Regions from separate parts of the Homo sapiens genome. Here all the other regions are linked to region 2. The links are contacts of gene promoters, found by promoter capture Hi-C in blood cells and fetal thymus (Javierre and others, 2016). All regions are on one chromosome and are shown on one strand. Each heading gives the region's core, a stretch centred on a gene start or on the middle of the fragment in contact. The rest is flanking DNA. Distances are from core to core; before and after follow the strand shown.

Region 1 (2,909 bases), core at 117-2,616, about 11 Mb before region 2:
TGCCTGAACTTTAGGGTTGTTAAAGTGGATCACTGTTCCTTGGTTTGTAAACATATTCACCTATTAAGAAAAGAAAAATTTAAATTAGCAATGCTGACCAGTCTCTTTAAAAACAAATGTTTTATTAAACTAAGTCTGGCTAACTAGTATTTCACTGTGAAGCACAGGTGAAATTTTGCCTGGAATGGAATATGTATTCTAATAGCATTCAGACTTAATGAGCTCCCTGATATTTATTAATTTATGGTAGAAACACATCTTAGGGACTTTGAAGTCCCTAAGTTAAAAAAAAAAAAAACAACCCATTTAATGCATTAACGTTAACTTTTCCCAGCCAAATCTTGTTTTTTAAAGTAACAAAATTTGATACTTGCCTCTTCAATACCAGAGATATTGTTTACCCCTAACTTCTTTAAGGAGAACTGAAGTTTTTTGTCATCTGCTGTGGCTGTTCTATGAACCACCTTCTTCTTTCTGCGAGCAGTTCCCTAAAGTCAGGGAGAAGAGGAAAGAAAACAGCACATTTATACCACAACAGATATTTTTCAAATGGGAATAGTTTCCAATTCATTTCTGACCTTTGGATCTGTATAAGAACATTACCATAATCATAAACTTATGCAGTGAGCAGGCAGGCTAAGGCGAAGATAGAAGCAAAAAATGGGAAAGGAAAAGAATGATCTTTTCAAAGTTCTACTTTTTACATTTGCTCTAAAAGTGATCAAAGAGGTAGCATGTGTCAATCTAAATTAAGCATTTGAAAGAATTCCACATCCAGAATTATTAACCTCTTCTGTTTTTTTTTTTTTTTTTTTTTGAGACAGGGTCTCACTGTGTCGTCCAGGCTGGAGTGGCGCAATCTCGGCTCACTGCAACCTCCGCCTCCCAGGTTCAAGTGATTCTCCTGCCTCAGCCTCCCGAGTAGCTGGGATTACAGGCACCACCATGCCTGGTTAATTTTTGTATTTTTAGCAGAGATGGGGTTTCACCATGTTGGCCAGGCTGGTCTCAAACTGCTGGCGTCAAGTGATCCGCCTGCCTCGGCCTCCCAAAGTGTTGGGACTACAAGTGTGAGCCACCGCGCCTGACCCCTTTTCTGTTTTTATATTAAATAAAAATCAACATCCAAATTAATATTTACAGGCAAGACAGTGTATGGAACAATCAAATGAATCTGTATATAGACTTCTATAGGACTCGATAGTAAAGTCTGAAGCCCTTACCTTAACTTACAAGAGCCCTACACAAACTGTCCTGCCCTTAATATGCCACTCCTGACTGCATCTGCTACCATCCCTCTTCTTTAGCCAATAAACCTTGGCTATTCTTTGAACAGGCCAAGCAGGCTATGACCCAAGGGCCTTTGCACATGCTGTTCCTCTCCTTCCGGAACATCTACATGGCTCTTTCCCTCACTGCAGATCTCTACTCTTATGTCACCTGATCAAAGTGGTCTTTCTCAACTACCCAAAGTAAAATAGCAACTTCCACACTCACTCATCAATTTCTTTCTATCCTGGTTTATTTCTCTTCATAACACTTATTACTATAAGAGATAAATACATTTTATCATCCATCTCCTCTCCCTAGAATGTAAGCTCCATAAGGACTTCTGTTTATTGCTATAAACCCAGTATCTACAACAGTATCTAGCTCACTGAAGGCACTCAAGGAAAGTCTATCACACCCAACCACCTCACCGTCCCCCAACCTCCATCCCTATTCCTATTCATCCTTTAAAATCTTATTCAAGTCATTACCTCCTGTTTGCCTTTCCTAAATTCTGCAATTACCCCCTTTCCCTATGCCAAATCATTCCCATCTCTAGATTTTGAAAATGCTTCTACTATTGTACTATGTATATTACACTGTGAAAGAAGATTTTTTTAAGAAAAGACAATTATCGCCACTGCTAGGCTTAAAGCCCACCTAGGGACTTTAAACTTCTTAAAATTTTATATTCTCAGGATCCAACATAGTAAAGGCTTAAATAAATCTTGTTATTTAACTGAAGAAAATATCTATGGCTACAAAAAAAAAAAAAAAGTACTGGTTACTAACCTCTCCAAACTATTAAGTACAAAAATCACTTTGAAATGGTCATGTATGTATCTGGTTTCCAAAGAAATCTTCTCTAAGAAACTCAAAGGAATTTCTAAGATTGTAAAGACAAACCCAGCATACTTTCTAGAGGTTTCATACACTTCACATATGTAGAGTTCAATTTTCACTTAAATAATTATTATTAATGCTGTGATTAGATATGAAAATAAAGGGCTTTTGTAACATTTACCTAAGAGCACCTAACACCTGCAGTTTTCTCTAAAGCAAAATTAACTCACCTAATTTCACATCCCATAATAAGTACGTTTCTTAAACAGTGTAGAAATGTTTCCATATTGTGACTACAGAAATACTTCTTGTATTATTAGCTAAACGAGTATTAAGATGTTAGGACACAAAATTTAATCTTGTTATCAGCTTTAAATATCCTAGCAAATCTCAAGATTTCCTTTACCCTAAAATGATGTCTCCCAAAGTTAAAGCCTAATGATGAGAGTAACAACAAAAAGACTGCACATAAGCACATTATTCAAATTACTCCTTCTGAAACTGTACTGAAAGTAAGAGTGGTTAAAAACACCAATATAAGAGCATCCAAACACTGAGACACAAAAAATTTGAGTTTTGCTGGCACTTGAAGGCCACAGTCTGATAACAATTGATTAAAGAGGACAAGAAACATCTAATGTTGTTAAATGTGTGGGTGTGGATCCTGAAGATGGCTAACGTTAACAAAAATAAAAAGTAAAAAAAAATCAGGATAAATTCACCGCTGGCAAAGTTCAGTAATTTAACAAAGCTGTATATTATTATTTAAGTCTAAGTGCAACTTCTGGCTATCTCAC
Region 2 (3,112 bases), core at 591-3,090:
CAAAAAACCCAACAACAACAACAATAACAAATCACACACAGGGTTTTGTGTCATGTTAATTTTTTTTTTTTAAACAGGGTATCATGCTGTCGCCCAGGTTGGTGCAATCTTGGCTCACTACAAATTCTCGGGCTCAAGTGAGGCTCCCACCTCAGCTTCCCGAGTAGCTGAGACTACAGGCCTGCACCACCACGCCTGGCTAATTTTTGTATTTTTTGTAGAGACGGGGTCTCACTTTGTTGCCCAGGTTGATCTCAAACTTCTCAGCTCAAGTGATCCGCTCGCCTTGGCCTCTCAAAGTGCTGGGATTACAGGCATGAGCCACCTCTCCAGGCCATGTCCATCCTATTAACATTTGGAAGTGCCTAGCACAGTGTACTCTTTAGAATTGTGGAATAACAATGATTGATGAAATGAAACATATACTTGAAGATGCTACTAGGGTATACGAGATTTTTTTTCTGACTTAGAACTACATCAAAGAAAGAAGGGCCTAAGACCAAGGTTTGGGAATGTACACAATGAATTGCTCAAAAGAGAGTTAGCTTTAGTAATGACAGGAAGAAGCTATTTCTTCAACCAAACAGAATACACACAGAAAAATTTAAAAGAGCCATTACACTGGCTGGCAAAACAGATGTGGATATTATGGCCCTGGTACACACGGAGTTTATAGTCAGGTACACTGTCCTGTCACAACGACCAATACGTTATCGTATTTACAGCGTTTTGGAGTTTCTGTCCATCTCTGTCAATATAATACACTTTGAAATAAGTTTCTTACTTAGAATCCCTAGCAGTGTTTGATACACAGTTGGAGCTCAATAAATGTTTACGGAGTGAATGATGAGGCACAAAAGGAATTTGTTGAATTATTTGTTAAATGAATCAAATAATTTTCTAGGATTCACGGGCTGTCTTCTGCACGATAAGCTTCATTCTGTGGGTCTGAGTTTCTCCTGGTTCTCAATTCTGTCTTTTTGTGGATTATCTACTTTGTAGCTGGAGCTTTGTATCTGTTTAAGATAATTATTCTTCTATTCCTTTTTTTTTTTTTTTTTTTTTGAGACGGAGTCTCGCTCTGCCGCCCAGGCTGGAGTGCAGTAGCGCGATCTCGGCTCACTGCAACCTCCGCCTCCTGGGTTCACGCCACTCTCCTGCCTCAGTCTCCCAAGTAGCTGAGACTACAGGCGCCCACCACCACGCCCGGCTAATTTTTTGTATTTTTAGTAGAGACGGGGTTTCCCCGTGTTAGCCAGGATGGTCTCGATCTCCTGACCTTGTGATCCGCCCGCCTCTGCCTCCCAGAGTGCTGGGATTACAGGCGTGAGCCTCCGCGCCCGGCTCTTCTATTCTTAGTAGAAGCAACCAGTAGCCCTAGCGAAACCAGACGTTAATTCCATTCTCGCAGTTCTTTTCCCCAGGGCAAGCAGCAAAAAATGCATTCCCACAAAAGAGCAAGCTCATCCCCAAATCCCGGGTTTCCCACCCCCACAAGCTTCAGGAAAACAGGAGCGAGGCACGTGAATACTTCTTTGGACCTCAGCGATCCCAGAACCTAGGCTACTAAAACATCCATAGGCTTAACCTCATCATATAACTTAAACAGCCTTCGCAACACCGAGAGCACCACACCAACACCTTCTTATCCAGCCCTGGTTGGGACAAGGGCTCCAACTCCAGACTGCAGTCCTCGGTAGCGCGGTGTCTTCTGGGATCTGTAGGCTCCCGCGGTTCGGCCTTCCTCCCTCTGTGACTCCAATTCCCGGCAGTCAGTGGGCTCCAAGGTCCGCCCTTTTTCTGGAGGAGGAGCTCAGAGCGTACGGGAGGGGGCGGACCCTTGCCCCTCCGGCGCTTGGGCCAGAGTGGTGCGGGCGGCGCGTGGCGGCGATCCCCACGTGGTGGCTTTCTCACGCTAGCCCTCTTTGGTCCTCCTTGACGTCCCGGGCCTGTGGGCCCGCTTTCTGCCGAGATGCCGAAGGTCAAGTCGGGGGCCATCGGCCGCCGCCGCGGGCGGCAGGAGCAGCGCCGGGAGCTGAAGAGCGCTGGAGGTGCGGATCCCCGCGAGGAAGCTGGGGTCGGTCGGGTCAGGTCTTCCGGCAGGACCTAGCCTGGGGTGCGGACCAAGACCTGATCGGCAGAGGCCGGTCAGGACGCGCTCCCGTGAGCGCGGAAGGCAGGGGTGGGTCCCCGACTCGGCCGCAGGCCCTGCGCGTCGCCGCTGACTTCCTTTCCAGCTGGAGGATGAACTTATAAAGAGTTTGTCAGTCCTGGCGTGACGTTTCGTGGCCCTGGTTGGCGCAGAAATCTTCCCCATACCCATGCAGCTTTCTTCTCTGGTACTGCCTAATATCTAATCTCAGTAGGAAAATTAATGCTGTTTCGTATTTTCTTACAGGACTCATGTTCAACACGGGGATTGGGCAGCACATTTTGAAAAATCCTCTCATTATTAACAGCATTATCGATAAGGTGGGTGTGGAAGAGGAAAGGGAGAGAGTTGTTGGTTTATTAATTTTATTCCTATGAATACATAAGCGCAGAAAGTCTGCCTGCCGTAAATTAGATGCTCTGTAAATATTTGTTGAATGAATCAAATAATTGTCTAGGATTCTTGGGCTGTCTTCTGCATGATAAGCTTCATTTTGTGGGTCTGAGTTTCTCCTGGTTCCCAATTCTGTGTCTTTTTGTGGATTATCTACTTTATAGCTGGACCTTTGTATTTGTTCAAGATAATTATTCTTCTATTTCTAATCACCTTTTTGATCACTTAGTTTTTATGTACTCCATCTATTTATGTCTAAACTACACATTAGAAAGTTTGTTCCCCAGAAAAACATATAGTACTACATATAAATTATTTGGTGTATGCTAGTACCACATATAAATTGCTTGGAGTATTACTGCTTTCTGAGTTATTGATGTTCTCTTATGGTTATGGATGATTGGGTGTTAGGAAGTGAAATACACACGGTGCAGATTACACTTATGGTTAAAAGCAAGGAAAGCATCCTGGAGCTGTAGAAAGAGCATTACATAGTTAAAGGATCTTGTCAGGCTTCGTGTCATTTGAAAACTGAGAAAAAAAGAAAGAAGGGTCATGTACTATTTT
Region 3 (3,006 bases), core at 303-2,802, about 10 Mb before region 2:
TATTCCTAGAAAATTCAACATATATTAAAACTCTGCAAAAAGTTCCACATGTATATGTAAAATTGAGTTAGGCTCTTGGCTCTGATATCTATAAACAGATTTCTTACACCTTTGTGACTATCTAACAAGACATTTACAAGTCATACAAAGCTAGGACAATTCTTCATGGTGAACATCTAGCACTCTCAGCCCTGCCCAGTAAATGACAAGAGCACCTCCCAGTCACTAGGACACCTCCAGAGAGCAGCACTGCCTCAGTGGAGAATGACTATGGTAAATGACTAAGGGCTGTGAAAACATTATGCTAACCCAGTTAGGAGGTCAAGAAAGGACTTCCTTGAGGAAGTGACTCTTTATCAGAAATCTAACAGGAATTATCAAAAAGCAAAAGTGAGGCTAGGAGGACCTCATAGATGATGTTAAGAAGCTTGGACTATCTTAAGGATAATACAAAGCTTGTGAAAGGGGTTTAAATTGATAAAAAACATGATCAAAGTCTGGAAAAGAATTAATCCTCCTAGACATGGGGAAGGAGAGGTTCATCTTTTGTTCTATAGCTTTAATATTAGGTTAATTTTTAGAATGTGTCATATTTCAATAAAAATGATTTTTAAAACCCATCAGTTTGCAATGAGGGCAGGAGGAGCCATAGGAAGACCTAACTGTCCAATCTGCATATAAAATGGAATTCCAGTTTGTTAGGGGAAGGGCAGTCCTGTTTCACAGAGAGCCAAGATGCTACCAAAAACTCTGGTACTTAAATATTGAAGACTTAAACACATGCACTATTTTGTTAGTAATAGTGATAGCTAATATTTTTGAGTGCCAAGCAGTGTTCTAAGCACTTCACAACTCTATGATGCTGCTCTATTAATTACATTTTACAAATAAGTACATTGAGGCACAGAGAAGTTACTTGCCTAAGGTTGGTCAGCTAGTAAATGCCAAAGCCATGATTCAAACCCAACTAATCTGGCTCCAGTGTCCAGTCTGGAAGCCCCTGATATACTGCCTTTCCAAAAGAAACATCAATCTCCATAAACTGGGAAACTACTCATAAATACAACCATGTGCATACGAAAGAACATATATTTTGATACCTTTGTGGTGAGGTAAAAGAGAAAAGTAAAATCACACTTCACCATCATAAAAGTCATAATAGATCTAAAAAACCAGTAGTATGTATATAGTATGACAATATAATAAAAATGAGGTATTCTCATAGCATTGAGTAAATGAGTTAAAAACATTCTAAATATAATCTTCACAACACCCCTCTGTTGTAAGTAGGTAGCAAGTATTATTTTTATTTGACAAGCAGATAAATCAAAACAGCTTAAGAAATTTGCTGAATCATTTGCTGAATGTGAATCAGATATGTAGACTTCCACAGAAAATCTCTCTTATACTGTTTTTTTTTTTTACAGAAAAATGCTATGATGAGCAAGGAGAAAAAAAATCAGAGCTATCCAATGATCTAAAAAGAGCATGCTATTTAAAGAATACAATTATTTAATAAAACTTTCATGAGAAATTGAACCAAAGTTCAGGTATGAAGGGAAAGAAGGAAAAGTTTACAGGCACCTAATGATGAATCAAAACGTTGACAAACTTGTTAAATTATAGCTATCAGTGGAACTAGAAAGTCCTTTAAGAAAGTCTATAGGCTGGGCGCGGTGGCTCATTCCTGTAATCCCAGCACTTTGGGAAGCCGAGGCGGGCGGATCACAAGGTCATGAGTTCGAGACCTGGTGAAACCCCGTCTCTACTAAAAAAATACAAAAATTAGCCAGGCGTGGTGGCATGCCCCTGTAATCTCAGCTACTTAGGAGGCTGAGGCATGAGAATTGCTTGAACCTGGGAGGTGGAAAAAAAAGTCTATAATGAGCCGGGCGCGGTGGCTCACGCCTGTATTCCAGCACTTTGGGAGGCTGAGGCGGGTGGATCGCCTGAGGTCAGGAGTTCGAGACCAGCCTGGCCAACATGGTGAAACCCCATCTCTACTAAAAATACAAAACATTAGCTGGGTGTGGTAGCGGGCGCCTGTAATCCCTACTAGGGAGGCTGAGGCAGGAGAATCTCTTGAACCAAGGAGGTGGAGCTTGCAGTGAGCCAAGATTGTGCCATTGCACTCCAGCCTGGGCAACAAGAGGGAAATTCGGTCTCCAAAAAAAAAAAAAAAAAGAGAGAGAGTCTAAAACCAGAGGTTATGGATCAAGAAGGAAGAGAAAAAAATGCAAAACTAACTGTTGAGCTCATATTAGTTACGGAAATGAGCTCAACTAGATTAGAAGGACAGGGACCATAACTCATGTTACACAGTGCTAGGCACATGGGGTTTAAATCATCCTCGATTGAGACTGATGGGTAAATCATCTAGTTCACCACTTGAAAATAGGCTAAGACGTTAAAATTTTAACTTTCTGGCATTACAAAGTTATTGTCATCTAGGAGTTTAGAGATTAACAGAACACAGAAAATGGAAAATAGGTACTAAGGAAAGTTTGAATAAATGTATGCTTAGAGTGTCTTTTCTGGAAGAACTTTGAAGATGACTAGACATGCTTACTAAATGCTAGTTAAAGTTTACAAATCAACATTAAAAAAAAGAGTGTGGTATCAAATTGAGTGATAAGAAGGAAAGCTTGATCTCAAAATTTGACCCAATCTATAACCAGACACTTCCTATACTTTAGCCCATTTAATATTCACAACAGCACTATGAGGTAGATGTTAACTCCATTTTATATTAACCGAGGTTCAGAGAGGTTAAGTAGCTTGCCCAGCTAGTATGTGGCAGATTAGGCATTCAAAACCAAACCTGTGTGATTCCAAAGTCTGAACCATGCCTACTAATAACAGCAACCCTGTTATCATTAATGGGTCCTTCCATGTGCCAGTTATTATGTTAAATTCTTTAAATACATGATCTCATTTAATTCCATGAATATGTACTATAATTATCTCCATTTTACAGAAGAGGAACAGGCTTAAGAGAACTTAAGC

The links. The method cuts DNA at HindIII sites, captures the fragments that hold promoters and counts their contacts. A CHiCAGO score of 5 or more calls a contact.
Region 1: a fragment that was not itself captured here is called in contact with the fragment with the promoter of DIMT1 in region 2 in 3 of 17 cell types (total CD4 T cells, naive CD8 T cells and fetal thymus); the score reaches 15.5 in total CD4 T cells.
Region 3: a fragment that was not itself captured here is called in contact with the fragment with the promoter of DIMT1 in region 2 in 1 of 17 cell types (activated CD4 T cells); the score reaches 6.1 in activated CD4 T cells.

What each region holds. Positions count from the first base shown.
Region 1 is chr5:73,500,067-73,502,975 of GRCh38, reverse strand. BTF3 (basic transcription factor 3) reads right to left here. Exons shown (of 6, transcript NM_001037637.2): 3 at 375-488; 4 at 1-60. Among named protein-coding and RNA genes, the nearest start is that of BTF3, 3.1 kb to the right of the region's middle. The HindIII fragment of the contact is 3,225 bases long and covers 1-2,909 here.
Region 2 is chr5:62,402,633-62,405,744 of GRCh38, reverse strand. DIMT1 (DIM1 rRNA methyltransferase and ribosome maturation factor) reads left to right here and starts at 1,840. Exons shown (of 12, transcript NM_014473.4): 1 at 1,840-2,051; 2 at 2,399-2,472. The coding sequence starts at 1,973. RefSeq lists an enhancer at 1,630-1,919. The HindIII fragment of the contact is 1,140 bases long and covers 1,501-2,640 here.
Region 3 is chr5:72,840,298-72,843,303 of GRCh38, reverse strand. The region is part of intron 1 of TNPO1 (transportin 1); the gene reads right to left. Among named protein-coding and RNA genes, the nearest start is that of TNPO1, 25 kb to the right of the region's middle. The HindIII fragment of the contact is 2,189 bases long and covers 458-2,646 here.